Linked DNA regions of Homo sapiens: region 1 is linked to region 2. Evidence: promoter capture Hi-C in 16 types of primary human blood cells and fetal thymus (Javierre and others, 2016). All regions are on one chromosome and are shown on one strand. The core of a region is centred on a gene start or on the middle of the fragment in contact, and the rest is flanking DNA. Distances in the headings are between cores, read along the strand shown.

Evidence for each region. Contacts are between HindIII fragments. The CHiCAGO score rates a contact against its expected background, and 5 or more counts as called.
Region 1: a fragment that was not itself captured here is called in contact with the fragment with the promoter of SLIT3 in region 2 in 3 of 17 cell types (M0 macrophages, M1 macrophages and M2 macrophages); the score reaches 7.1 in M0 macrophages.

The regions. Positions count from the first base shown.
Region 1 is chr5:169,540,799-169,547,835 of GRCh38, forward strand. The region is part of intron 2 of LOC105377714 (a long non-coding RNA gene); the gene reads right to left. All of the region lies in intron 3 of LOC105377715 (a long non-coding RNA gene), which reads left to right. Among named protein-coding and RNA genes, the nearest start is that of SPDL1, 39 kb to the right of the region's middle. The HindIII fragment of the contact is 1,434 bases long and covers 4,643-6,076 here.
Region 2 is chr5:169,298,751-169,305,212 of GRCh38, forward strand. It overlaps SLIT3 (slit guidance ligand 3), which reads right to left and starts at 2,389. Exons shown (of 36, transcript NM_003062.4): 1 at 1,763-2,389. The coding sequence starts at 1,959. The HindIII fragment of the contact is 7,800 bases long and covers 1-4,035 here.

The sequences.
Region 1 (7,037 bases), core at 4,110-6,609, 250 kb after region 2:
CTGAGTCTATCTGTGCTTGCCTTGAACAGTGTTTTTTAAAAAGAACTACTTGCAGTTAGAATGGAACTTCCATTCTTTTGGCTTTACATTTTATACAGACATACCTCATTTTATTGCACTTTGCTTTATTGACCTTCACAGACATTGCTTTTTTTTTTTTTTTTTTTTTTTTTTTTTTTTACAAATTGAAGGTTTGTGGCAAACCTCCATCAAGCAAGTCTATCAGAGCCATTTTTTCCAACAACATATTCAGGTTTCTATGTTACGTTTTGGTAATTCTCACAGTATTTCAAACTTTTTATGATTTCAAACTTTTTATTGTTATCTGTTATGGTGATCAGTGATCTTTAATGTTACTATTGCAATTGTTTCGAGATGCTGCAAACTACACCTATATAAGACAGCAAACTTAATTGATAAATGTGTGTACTCTCTGCCCAGCCAACTGGCTGTTCTCCCATCTCTCTTCCTCTCCTTGGGCCTTCCTATTCCCCGAGAAACAATAAAATTGAAATTAAGGCCAATTAATAACCCTACAATTGCCTCTAAGTGTTAAAGTGAAAGGGACAACTGATAATTGAAGGAAAGGAAGAGAAGATAATTGATGAAGGTGGCTATACTACACAACAGATTGTCAATGTATTAATAGCTGAAACAGCCTTTTATTGGAATAAGATGCCATCCAGGACTTTCATAGCCAGAAAGTAAAAGTCAATGCCTGGCTTCAAAACTTCAATGGACGGGATACTCTTTTGTCAGGGCCTAATGCAGGTGGTAACCGTAAGTTGAAGCCAATGCTCATTTGCCTTTCTGAAAATCCTAAGGCCCTTAAGAATGATGCTAAATTTACTCTGTCTGAGCCCTAGAAATGGAACAATAAAGCCTGGATGAAAGTACATCTGTTTACCAGTATGATTTACTGAATTTTTTTCCTTCTTTTTTTGAGACAGGGTCTCATTATGTTGCCCAGACTGGTCTTGAATGCCTGGGCTCAAGTGGTTTTTCTGCCTCAGCCTCCAGAGTACCTGGGATTATACACATGCACCACCACATCCAGCAGTTTACTGAATATTTTAAGCCCATTGTTGAGACCTGCTGCAAAAAAAAAAAAAAATTGCTTTCAAGGTATTACTGATCATTGACAATGCACCTAGTCATCCAAGAATTCTGATGGAGATGTACAATGTGATTAATGTTATTTTCATGCCTGATATCACAACATCATTCTGCAGCCCATGGATCAAGGAATAATTTTGACTTTCAAGTCTTATTATCTAAGAAATACATTTTGTAGGCCAGGCACAGTGGCTCAAGCTTGTAATCCCAGCACTTTGGGAGGCTGAGGCAGGTGGATCACGAGGTCAAGAGTTCAAGACCAGCCTGAACAACATGGTGAAGCCCCATCTCTACTAAAAATACAAAAATCAGCTGGGTGTGGTGACATACACCTGTAATCCCAGCTACTCAGGAGGCTGAGGCAGGGGGATCACTTGAACCCAGGAGGCAGAGGTTGCAGTGAGCTGAGATTGTGGCATTACACTCCAGCCTGGGCAACAGAGTGAGACTCCATCTCAGAAAAAAAAAAAAGAAAGAAATACAATTTGTAGGGCTAAAAATGCCATAGATAGTGATTCCTCTGATGAATCTGGACAAAATCAATTGAAAACCTCTGAAAAGGATTCACCATTCTAGATGCCATTAAGAACATTCATAATTCATGAAAGGAGGTCAAAATATTAACATTAACAGGAATTTAGAAGAAATTTATTCCAACACTCATGATGACTTTGAGGGGTTCAAGACTTCAGTGGAGGAAGTAACTGCAAACGTGGTGGAAATAGCAAGAGAACTAGAAGTGCAGCCTGAAGATGTGACTGAATTGCTGCAATCTCATGATGAAACTTGAACAAATGAGAGTTGTTTCTTATGGATGAGCAAAGTGGTTTTTTGAGATGGAATCTACTCCTGGTGAAGATGCTGTGAGCATTGTTGAAATGACAACAAATGATTTAGAATATTACATGAACTTAGTTGATAACGCAGTGGCAGCATTTGAGAGAATTGACTCCAATTTTGAAAGTTTACTCTGGTCAAAATGCTGTCAAATAGTATTGCATACTACAGAGAAAACTTTCATGAAAAGAAGCAAACTTCATTGTTATCCTAAGTAATTGCCTCAGTCACCCCAACCTTCAGCAACAACAACCTTAATTAGTCAGCAGCTGCCAACATCCAGGCCAGACCCTCCACCAGCAGAAAAAGATTATGACTCAGTAAAGGCTTGGATGATCGTTAGCATTTTTTAGCAATAAAGTATTTTTTAATGAAGTACATTGTCTTTTTGGACATAATGCTATTGCATACTTAATAGACTACATTATAGTGTAAGCATAACTTTTATTAGCATTGGGAAATCAAAAAATTCACGTGATATGCTGTATTATGATATTTGTTTTATTGGAGTGGTCTGTAACCAAACCTGCAAAATCTTTGCGTTATTCTCGTGTATGTAGTAGTGTGGTGGTTTGAAGTAGGGGGAATTTCTACTCTAGGAGCTCTCTGAACTCTCTCCCTGATGGGTAGGAGGTTATTTCCAACATTCATTAGTCCTTTCTTTATTGGGTAAAGTTATTAACAATCTGAGAGCACGATGATTTCTCTTTTTTTACCCTTTCTCCCCTGACAAGGCTGTTCTGCATACCAAAGATTTCTTCTGAGAGCGGTAATTAGAAAATATATTTTGGCTAGAGATTGCAGCATTGTTCTCCAATCAGTTTTATCAGTAATAATGCTGACATCTTGATCTCCATCTGTCTTACTCCTGTGTCATTTCTTAATTCATAATGAACAAAGAGGAGAAGGAGGATGTTGTTATTAATTGGCTGCCTCAAGCTCCAAGAGACTGCCAGCATTTAAACATTGGGAAATTTCATATAAAGATCTAGATTTCTGACATGTTAAAAAATGGATTATTTGGCAGGGCTGGGACATATCTGCACATGGTATCAATTGGGCTGAAGCTGAGTAATGGCTGTCACCTTTATATGGGACATGAATTCTCCTGTTTGCCATAGTCTCCACCACTCCATATTACCTTACACCTAGTCATTTAATTTAGCCGTCTTGTCTCGGCATTTAAGTTTGCAATTCCTACTCTAATCATATACATGTCCCTGTTTAGAAAATAGATTTTTTTCTACATTAGTGAAATCCTGATTATTGAATAGAATGGTTAGTGAAACGTTTGAAAACCATTGGTATGGAAGATCTCGTATCTGTAAGTCTCACTGCGAAGCTACTGTTCTGGCATTCTGGTTCCTGATTCAGAGGAGCTACACATCTCTGTTGTTTCATCCCACTGCACCCTCAATGCAACATAGAACTACATCAACTATTTTTTTTCTACTTTCAGGTGAGACTGCACCTGTCAGCTCAGAAAAAAAAAAAAAACTATTTAAAGCCCTATAGTTAAGAAAATTCCCCATATATAGTTTATATTTTGTGTCCAGGCATTGTAGATTGTATCTTTCTGGCCAAAGTAGAGAATTGGAAAAATTATTGAACTAGTTTAAGCAAAACACATGTCAGATGACCCAGGTAATTTCCAGAAAAGCCAATGTTTTCTCTGAATTAGAGTACTCGGACAATTGCCTCAACCATGTGTATTAGTTAGGTCATGGAGACTGAAACTGTGTTTTCACAACTAAAATGACTACAGTTGAACCAGCCATGGAGGCCTGTCTCAAAAACAGAATTTTGCTGCATCACTGTGGATCAAACGACCCTTAACACAATCAGTTGTGGGGATAGTAAAGCATATTAATTTCATTGTCCTAAAGCAATTTAACCATATTACATAGATATGACTAACATTAAACTTTTTCTCCCAGTTTCATTTTATAAGATAGCAAAATGACTAATCAACCAATTGTCTAACCCAAATGATAACAACAGCTGACTTGACATTTTTATTTAATTGATGGCAAATCTGCAATTCTTTTAGATAGTTATATTCTAGGTGCTGCAAGCTAAGATTTAGCCTTCTTAATTATTTTTTGCTTTTTTTTTTTATAACCTCACATTTGCCTCCTTCACACACCCTGCTTAGATGACTTTCAAATAAAGCTAAACTCCCCCATTGGATTGCTGTCTATGGGCTCTTGCCCATGTCTTTTCTGTCTGAAAATGAAGTCTCTCTTCTCGCTTACCTTCTGAAAATCTAATATTGACCTTTTTTGTAAGGTGAGGCATCCCCTAATCATACCTGGAATCCTGGCCACCACAATATCATTCACTTCAGAAAATAAATACAAACTAAATATGACTCCAGATTTAAATGCAGAAACTTGAATAAGCACCACAGATTGGAGTATTTGGCTTTATTTCTTGCTGTGAGTCAGAGCCAGGAGGTTCCCATTAAGGTGTATATGAATTATATTACTCCATGCTGAAGTTTGTCTATAACGTAATGTTGTAAGGCAGCCAAGTTCTTCCAGCAATCTCATGGACCAATATTCAAAACATATCAGTATCTCATTAGATCCTTCATTTTACAAAAAAAAAAAAAGCTTTGCATTCTACTTAGCAAGCTATAGTTACATAGATATTTTGTTTTAGGGAAAAGTAAAATCCGTTTTAAATAAGCTTATTACTTCCATTGTATTGGTACCTATCAGGTTGTCACATTCATCTGGAACGAGTTGCCATGAAAAGAGGAAATAAATGCATAGAATTATGGATGGAGTGTACTTTGATATAGTTCAAAGAAATAGGAGGGGCATTTTCAGGGAAAATTTGTTCTACATCCCCATTACTGTCCTAAACCAGCAAAAAATTCCTTAAGCTAAGTCACATGGCAGGACAAAAACTGTTCAAATAAGCTCAAACCATGAGGAAAAAGGGCAACAAGTATTTTCTCTTCAGCTTCAAACTTCTTTCTTTTCTTCTTGCTCCTCTCTTTTAAATGAATCCTTAAGAATTTTAGGCAAATATATATTTTAAAAAGTGCTGAATTCCAAAATATTTAATAATGGAAGAAAAGAGTTGACTGCTAATCCCCTCCCACATCTACTCCTTATTCTTCAAAAGCCACTTCAAATGAGAACTTGTGAAGACAGCCTCATCAGTAAGTCATCTCTCACCCTAGTGAGTCACCACCTTCAGAGGTGGATGACCTGGTAAGATGAAACATACTGAGATTCAAAAGCTCCCATGGACTGATGGTCCCAGCACTATAGCTGGAAGGTCCCTTTTCTTGCCTTTCTTATGCTGGTGTTCTATGCTAAAAAGAGAGTGATTATTTCATCAACTCCAGAAGCGAGACATGAAGAATTAGGGCTGATAGAACTTGGAACTAAGGAATATAATCACGTTTTCTAGGAAGAGGAAAGGAAATAAACACACTGAAAAAGAAACCCAGCACAAAACAAAAAATTAACACGAATGTATTAAACCTTTAAAGAGTGTATTATTGAGAGTCCTTGAAGAAGTAAACCTGTATTCTCCATGGCCATTGAGAAAAATAAAATAAAATGGCATTGACATATACCTGGAGAAGACAAGTTATATATTAAGCAACGGTTCATGATCAGGCAAGCATCTTCTTCCAAATAGGTCTTTAAAATTGAAATAATGATCATTTCTTGCTCTGAGCAAGCCAGTGAATGAAGTCTGTAGCAGAACCAGTGCATCATGTTTTCCTCCTCTTCCAACCTATTTCGTAAACTCTCACTACTAACTGGTGACAAATGGGTTGGTCCTTGTGTGTTTTGCTCCCATCAAATGTTGCCATGCATTTTCTGTTTGCACATGCCTTATGTCTTCTACTAGTTGGAGAGCTTTTGAAGGAAATAACTCTGGTCTTGCTCATCTTTGCAAGAGTATGCTATGGAAACATCGTTATTAAAGTTTCAGTTTATAAAGCAATATAAGGCAAAAGTCTTATCTGGCCAAATCATCCTTGGAAATTTCTTAGAAAGGGGCAATTTGACAACCATGGGTCATTAAGTCCAACATGGCCAGTTTTCTCTCAGTGCTGGAACAGGCCAGTGTATCATTAAATCCTTTATTTTTATGAAGCTTTACATTCTACTGGTTTTGGTTGACAACCAGTTGGCTGGTGAGTAGGCTTATATTGTTTGAAAATATAAATATAAACATGAGTGTTACGAGATGTCTCAACCATGAAAGGTACACAAAGTGTGATACTGGATAAGAAAAGAGAACATTGCTGTCTCTCATCTCATGCTTTTTTTTTTTTCTTTTTCTTTTGAGATGGAGTCTCACTCTGTTGCCCAGGCTGGATACAGTGCAGTGGCGCGATCTTGGCTCACTGCAACTTCCGCCTTCTGGGTTCCAGCAATTCTCCTGCCTGTCTCCCTAGTAGCTGGGACTACAGGTGCATGCCACCACACCTGGCTAATTTTTGTATTTTTAGTAGAGATAGGGTTTCACCATGTTGGCCAGGCTCGTCTCAAACTCCTGACCTCAACTGATCCACCTGCCTCAGCCTCCCAAAGTGCTGAGGTTACAGGCGTGTTCCTGGCCTCTCATCTCATTCTTACTGCAGTCAGGATCCCATCAGGAAAACAGAAACAGAAATCATGCCAAGTGTTTCAAACAGAGGTGATTTAATATAGGAGATCAGTTATACAGAGTCTGGAGGGCTGAAAGAGAAAAAGAAAAAAAAACAAACAAAAAATGGTGTTCAGGTACCTCTGGTATTTGTAGTATAGAAAGCAGCTAGGATTCTTAGGGCTGGAAGATTAAAAAAGAGTAAATAGTGTTACCAGGACACCATTTCTTGGGGGAAGGGTCTCCACAGAGCAGATTTTCCAACCACCAATGTGTCACTGCACAGCTGGCTCAGCAACCTCTGAGGAGATGTCACGTGATTGCTACTTGGACTCCAGTGGTGAGTGCTAAGAGGGAACGTGGCAGTTCCTACTGGTACCTCTGAAGGAGCCACTGTGGAACTAATGCTGGAAATGCTAAAATAAGCTGGAGTCCTACTTGAGTGCTACTGATGGAAGGACTTC
Region 2 (6,462 bases), core at 1,139-3,638:
TCACTAGCTGCACGACCTTGAGTAAATGACAAGATGGCTTAACTGTGAAAGGGAGTAATAAGCATTGCCTATGTAACTAACAGGACTGTTGGAGTGATTCAATGAGATAATACATATACACAAATCAAGGCATGAAAAGCATTTATCAAACATTAGCTATAATTATTATTTCACTAACTCATGTGGCTAGCACTGGTGTGACGAGGAGGGGAACTTAGTTTACAAGTTATAGGTATCTAAAAATACCACTAAAACAAGTTTTTCACTCCTATGGACTAACTTAATGTCTGAATTAAGGTGTGAAAACCTGGATTCTAGCCCCTTTATTGCCGTCAACTTGCTGTGTTTTCTTGGGCAAGTCATTTTACACTTCCAAGCCTGGTTTTCGACATGTGTTAATAAAGATTCGGCTCTCACCCTTTAGGATTCTGTGGTTCAACCCAACAAAACAATCACTGCACTTGTGGAAAAACAAAAAAGTACTGAGCCAAAGGAAAAAGAGAGCACCAGGAATAAGGAAGACAGTTCTGCTGAGTCTCCACCCAGAGATGCACAAAGAAGTGGAAGAGAAGAGGAGGTGGGGTGATAGGAGGTGACTAGCAGGAATAACACACTCTAGGACAATGCTTGTCATCACTACTCTCTTCCAGCCTGAAGTCAAGAAAGCAGAGTGGAAGATCCAGGCGCCTACCCCTAAGGCACATGAGGAAGGGGAGAAGAGGGAGAGCAAGACACGGAGGGAATCTACCACACTAGAGCAAACCCTCACCCACTTCTCGGCTGGGTTCCCAGTAAGGCTTCCCACCCACTCCAGCGTTTCTCCCCCACTCCCTTACCCCACCCCAACTGCGGACTAAGAGGAGCCCACCCCGGAGTCCAAGTTTTGAATCTGGTCCGAGGATCAAAATGATAAATGTTTCCAAAACGTTGACATATGAAAAGTAAATATTTGGTTGCACAATTGGGGCTAAAACTAGGGTCAATCCACCCCATTCTCCAAGCGCCTCTCCATTCGCTGCCAAGCCCAGGATCTGAGGCTGAGTGCGGTTTGTAAGATTATAACGCTCGGTCTCATTTGAAGGGCTGTCAGCATTTCCATTCTCCGGCCCCTTCGTTCGGGGAGGCATTTATAACCGAGCCATAAAAAATTCACCCGGGGCTGCAACTTGGCATCTCCCAGACTGCGCTCCAGGCAGAGCGGGTTTTGCGAGCACCCACTCTGAATCTGTCCAGTTCCTCAGAAGTTAAACCTTCACCCACACTCTCAACTTTCCTTGCAAGGGCAGCCAGAGAGCGGCTGGCCCATTCTGATCTCCAAGCAGGTCAACAGTCTCGGGCCCTCTCTCCCGCCTCCGCGCCTTGACGGCCCATCATCCTATAGCTTTCTCCTTCGCCCGCCCCCCTTTTTAACGAGCGCAGACCCCTGACCCTCACCCTAAGACCTTGAGGCTGCAGTGCTCTTGCCTCCCCTCGCCTCTCCTCAGCTACTCCTTGGAAGCTGTCAGCGGGCCCTGCGTCTGGAACCCTCACCCCTGGAGAGGCACTGCTCTTTGCCCATCGCTGGGGGTTTCGAGACCTCTCTTTCCAGATCTGACCAAGCCTACAGACCCCCAGCTCGGAGAGTGAGGGATCGTATCCAGGAAGGGATGAGAATAGAGACTGCATCCAGGGAGGCCGAGGGGAAAGGACGGATCTGGCGCCTGGGGCCCCCTCGGTGGGACCCAGGTGGGTGGCCCGCGTGGGGTGGGGCAGGGGTACTCACAGGCGCTCAGCGTTGCGGGGGATGCCCCGAGGAACCGCGCGGAGGCCCAGCCCGTGGCAGTCCACGCTGGCAGCGGAGCAGGTACACTTGGTGGGGCAGGCGACGGCTGGAGGCCCACTCAGGACGCTCGCCAGCGCCAAGGCCAGCGCCAGGCGGGCGCGCACGGCGGCGCCGACCCCTGCCCACCCGGGGGCCATGGTGTGCAGGGCCCCGCTCCTGGAGGAGGCTGCCTCTGCGGGGCAAGACGCGTGGAGCCCGAGGAGGCGCGCGGGGAGCGCGGGCGGCCTGGGGAGCGGGCGGCGGAGTTAGCGCGGAGGAGGGGCGAGCTCGGTGCTCAGGCGCACGGGGCGCGGGCGGAGCGGGGCGCTCCGGGCGGCGGCGGCGGCAGCAACAGCAGCTCCATCGGCGGGGCCGGCGCTGCCCCGCTGCGCATCGCTGGGAGTGCCCAGGTGCGGAGCGCCCCCTGGCCCCGCTGGCCCGCGGGCCGGGTTGGGGACCTGGGGCGAGCGCAATGGGGCGTGGCGCCCGGGGAGGTCCGGCTTGGGGCTGGGCTGGGGAGCGCGGCGGCTGCGGCTGGGGCACGGGGCGGCCGGGTGAGCTGGCCGGCGCTCGCTCTCTCCATTCAGTGAGCACGGCAGACACCGGAGACGCGGGGCCCACCCCTCCGGCCCCCCCCCGACCAAGAAACGCCAACTCCGCCTCCCATTGGCTGCGCCGCGCGTCATGTCGACTAAGTTGGGAACTTTGCTGGAGCGACCGAGAGCCTGGAGGGAGGAGGCAGTAGAGGAGGGAGAGAGAAGGAACCAGGGAAGGAAAGGGGCTCGGCCAGCAGGGCCCCTGGAAAGAAACACTGAAACTCATTCACTGTTAAGATCCAAGGACGGATAAGGCTCCTGACACTTTTTTTTTTTTAATTTTTGCACTGAGCTGAGCACTCTACTCATATTCTTTACTTAAGTCCACGATCTTCCAAGGGGTCGTCTGAAAACAGCTCAGAGAAGTGAAGCGACTTGCTGGAGGTCGCACAGCTGCTAGGGACGCCAAACCATGGCAGTGTCGCCCACGAAGCCGCTTCCCTACCGCACCTAGTACTCATGGCAGAGATCCACAATTTTGCCTGAAGAGCCTTGGTTGACACCAATGTACTCCACAGCTACACACACACACACACCGTGGTCCATGTTGTTGAGGTCACTGCTGGCAAACCTTACCCGGAAACTTGCCCTGCTTTGCCCAGACCCAGCGCTTGGTGGACTGGTAAAAGTAGTGATGGCAGCGACTTGGACCCCTGGATTGACAATGCCTTGTTCCATCCTCGGGTTTCTGCTTCCTGACTGGGTGACTCTGGGCCAATCGTGTCATCTCTGAGCCTTCGTTTTCTCAAATCCGGGGCCACAGTCCTACCTGGCCTCACCTCCCTGGGTTGTTTGGAGCATCACAGAAGAGAACGTGTTTTTGCAAAAGTCATTCGCAGACGAGGCATCCCTTCTGTCCCCAGCGCCTTCTTTCTTCCAGCGCCCGCTTTAAATTGGCTAGGTCTGAGCTTTTCCAGATGCCAGTGGGGAGGGGCGTGTGCGTTAGAGGCTCCATAAATACTTGTAGGAATGATTTTGTTTGTTTGTTTGAAAGGAAAGGGCAGGAACTGGAGGAAGTATTGCCCAGATTTCCTTGAGGTCCCCTCACACTGAGAAGGCCTGAATGAGCCCTGCATATATATACACACACACTGGTGCCTACGTATTCACAGCCACGCACACACTCTCACATACTCAGGCTCACACACACCCATTTATACACCGGCAATCACACACACGTGTACATGCATGCTCGCACACACACTCACATAGTGACAACTATACTCCTGAGAGCGCTTCTCTTTTCTTTCATAAGAATACTATTCTGATTTCTTCTACCTCATTTTCCTTCAAGGAAACTTTCAACTACTTGACCACATCCTGTGAATATATAGTAGAGTTGTAGATTTTATTGTATTATACTTAGCAGATTTTCAAAGTCTTAGCTTTGGGCACCCACTTGCGCGCGCGTACACACAAACACACACATACGCACACTCACTCAAACACACACACTCGAGTCCCTTCATCATTCATAAACACATTAGGTGCAATTTACTGCTGTTATTCTTGGGAACGGCTTTCTGTACAGATGCTGTTGTTATCGCCCCCTGGTGGCTGGCGAGGGTCTATGCTCCGGTCTTCAGGGTGACTTCGGTATTTAAGAACTCTAAACATCCTTTTATCCCTTTGCTCTGAAGCTTTCCTCCAAACCTTGAACCAATTTAGTACCAGGACTGAGGCAGATGAGAGAACCGGGCAAGGGCCCAAGGGCACAAAGCGTCTCAGACTGTCTGGAGCAGAAAACAGTACGGTTTTCTTTGTTTTCCCAAATGCATGCTAGAGCATGTTTTGCAATCCCTTCGGGCTGGTCCTGGATCTGTGCTCTGAGCGCAGTGGGGGACTGCGTTTTCCATTTAAGCTGCTCAGGGGGGTTTCATGAGCCAGACTGTATCTTTAAGGGACTTTATAGGCATTCAAGTGTGACTTTTCCTGGGAGAAGCCCCTTAGAACAGATGGTGAGGATTTCCTTCAGAGTCAATCATCCCCAAGGAGGAGGCAAGTGGGAAATACAGGAGGGGCCCAGAACACCAGGATACACAGAATCATGGAGTGTTTGGGCTGGTACAGCCTTAGAAATCACCTAATCCAACATTTCTACAAGTGCCTTCTGATGACTACTGATTCCACATGTTTCATCATGGAGGAGAAAAAAGTCTCCTTGGGCAAAGACAGATTGAGAAATGCTACTCACCTTCACCCCTCTTGGAGAATTGCATCACAGATGAGTGTTTTTAAGTTCCTGAGAAGTCCTGCAGTAAGGAAACCTGTTTAAGGCTTATTTAACCCAGTTTCTCAGTATAGAGGACCACTTTTCATGTAAACTGCAAATTCTCTTGGAACATACTTTGAGAACCCAAATATAGTTCAACTCTTGTATTTTACGAACAAGGAAGCTGAGTTTCAGAGAAAGGCGGGCATTTATGTAGGGTCACCTAGCTAATTAGTGAAATAACCAGAGCCAGGACTCCGGGCTTCCAATGCTGAACATGTGGCTCTGTCCACTTCCTCAGCTGATTCTGGGGCATCTGCAGAAGGCGGTAGCCACCCCATGGAGCAATTACCCTCCTTGGAGAAGACTGGGTAAATCACTAGGAGGTCAGGCTATTGTTTAGAACTTTCTATGTCCAAGGGCCAGAGGTGGCTTTACACTCTGTGGTGTCATTTTTAGAGTTGCGTAAAAGTCCCTGGACACTTTTGAATTTTCCCCTTTACTTTTCCATAGGCTTTTCAAAAGCAAACTACTCGCCCATTCCTGCAGGAAACCCCATCTCAAACTTTCTCCTCAACCTGTGTTTCTCAAAAGCAAACTACTCACCCATTCCTGCAAGAAACCCCATCTCAAACTTTCTCGTCAACCTGTGTATATTTCCCTGTGTGAGATACTACCCTTCATGTGGCCACCACAGTCAGCGGAGGTTTTCTGTTTCCAACCAGCCAGACTAACCATTTGTGCTCATCGTTCTCCAATGAATTCTCCAGATCTACTCTCTGCCCACTGTCGGAGGCAGTTCTGTTCCTCAGAACAAACAAAAAACTTTACCTTATTGAATTTCCCCAAAAAATGACTTTTAAAGAAAGCCATGGATAGCACACAGAATCTACAGAAAAAAATGAAGATGGAGGCTTCAACAAAGACAAGACCCAAGGCAGGATCTAGGTGCCAAGCTCAAGATTTCCAAATTCCCAGGAGGGAGCAATTGATGGTCCTGACTTGAGTCACGTGATCACCCTTTTGGCCAGAGAAGACAAGAACTATGGGTGACAGTTTTATGGAGACTGCACTCAGTTGGGCAGGTAGGAGTCCTTCTCTCAAAGGAAAACCCAGAAGCTATTAGCTGAAAAGTGGGTGGGAGTATTGAGAAGTCAAAACAGCTCAAAGAATTTTCCCTCTCTCACACACCACAGCCATTTAATTCTTCAGTTCTGTTCATTCTTCCCCATGACCATCTCTTCAATGTATCCCCTCTTCATCTCTGGTTCTCCTGCTATTGTTCAGATCCTAGTTTCATGCATAGGTATTGCTCATTGGCCCCCACATAATTTCTCTAACTTTATTTCTTAGTTTTTTGCTTCACCAATCCGTCCTTTGCCCTGATGATCCAAGGATCTTAAATACAGACCTGACAATGCAATTTTGAACTCTGGAGTTGTTTTCTGCTTCTTCCACCTCATCTGCCACCACTCCTCCACATCCACTCAATACCCGTCCCAGAACATCCTTTCCTGCTCTCCTGTCTGTCTACCCCAGAGTCCATGTAGCAGCCGAATCCTCCAGTTTAGAAGCGGAATCCTCTGGACTTGTTGGTCCAGACTATTAGGTTCTTGAAGATAGTGACCCTGTGTAATCCAATTTTTTCAAACTTGTATTATAAAAAGTTTCAGGCATATAGAGATGTCTAATCAAGTTTTGTAATCTTGATATCTAGAGGTGCAAATCTTGATATCTTGATGATGAATAAATGAATACATGAATGAATGAATAAACAAATGAATGATCTTCTCAATCAGCCAGCTTATTTGACATTCTCCTATTGTATTTTTATTCAGTTTAATCAGTGTTAG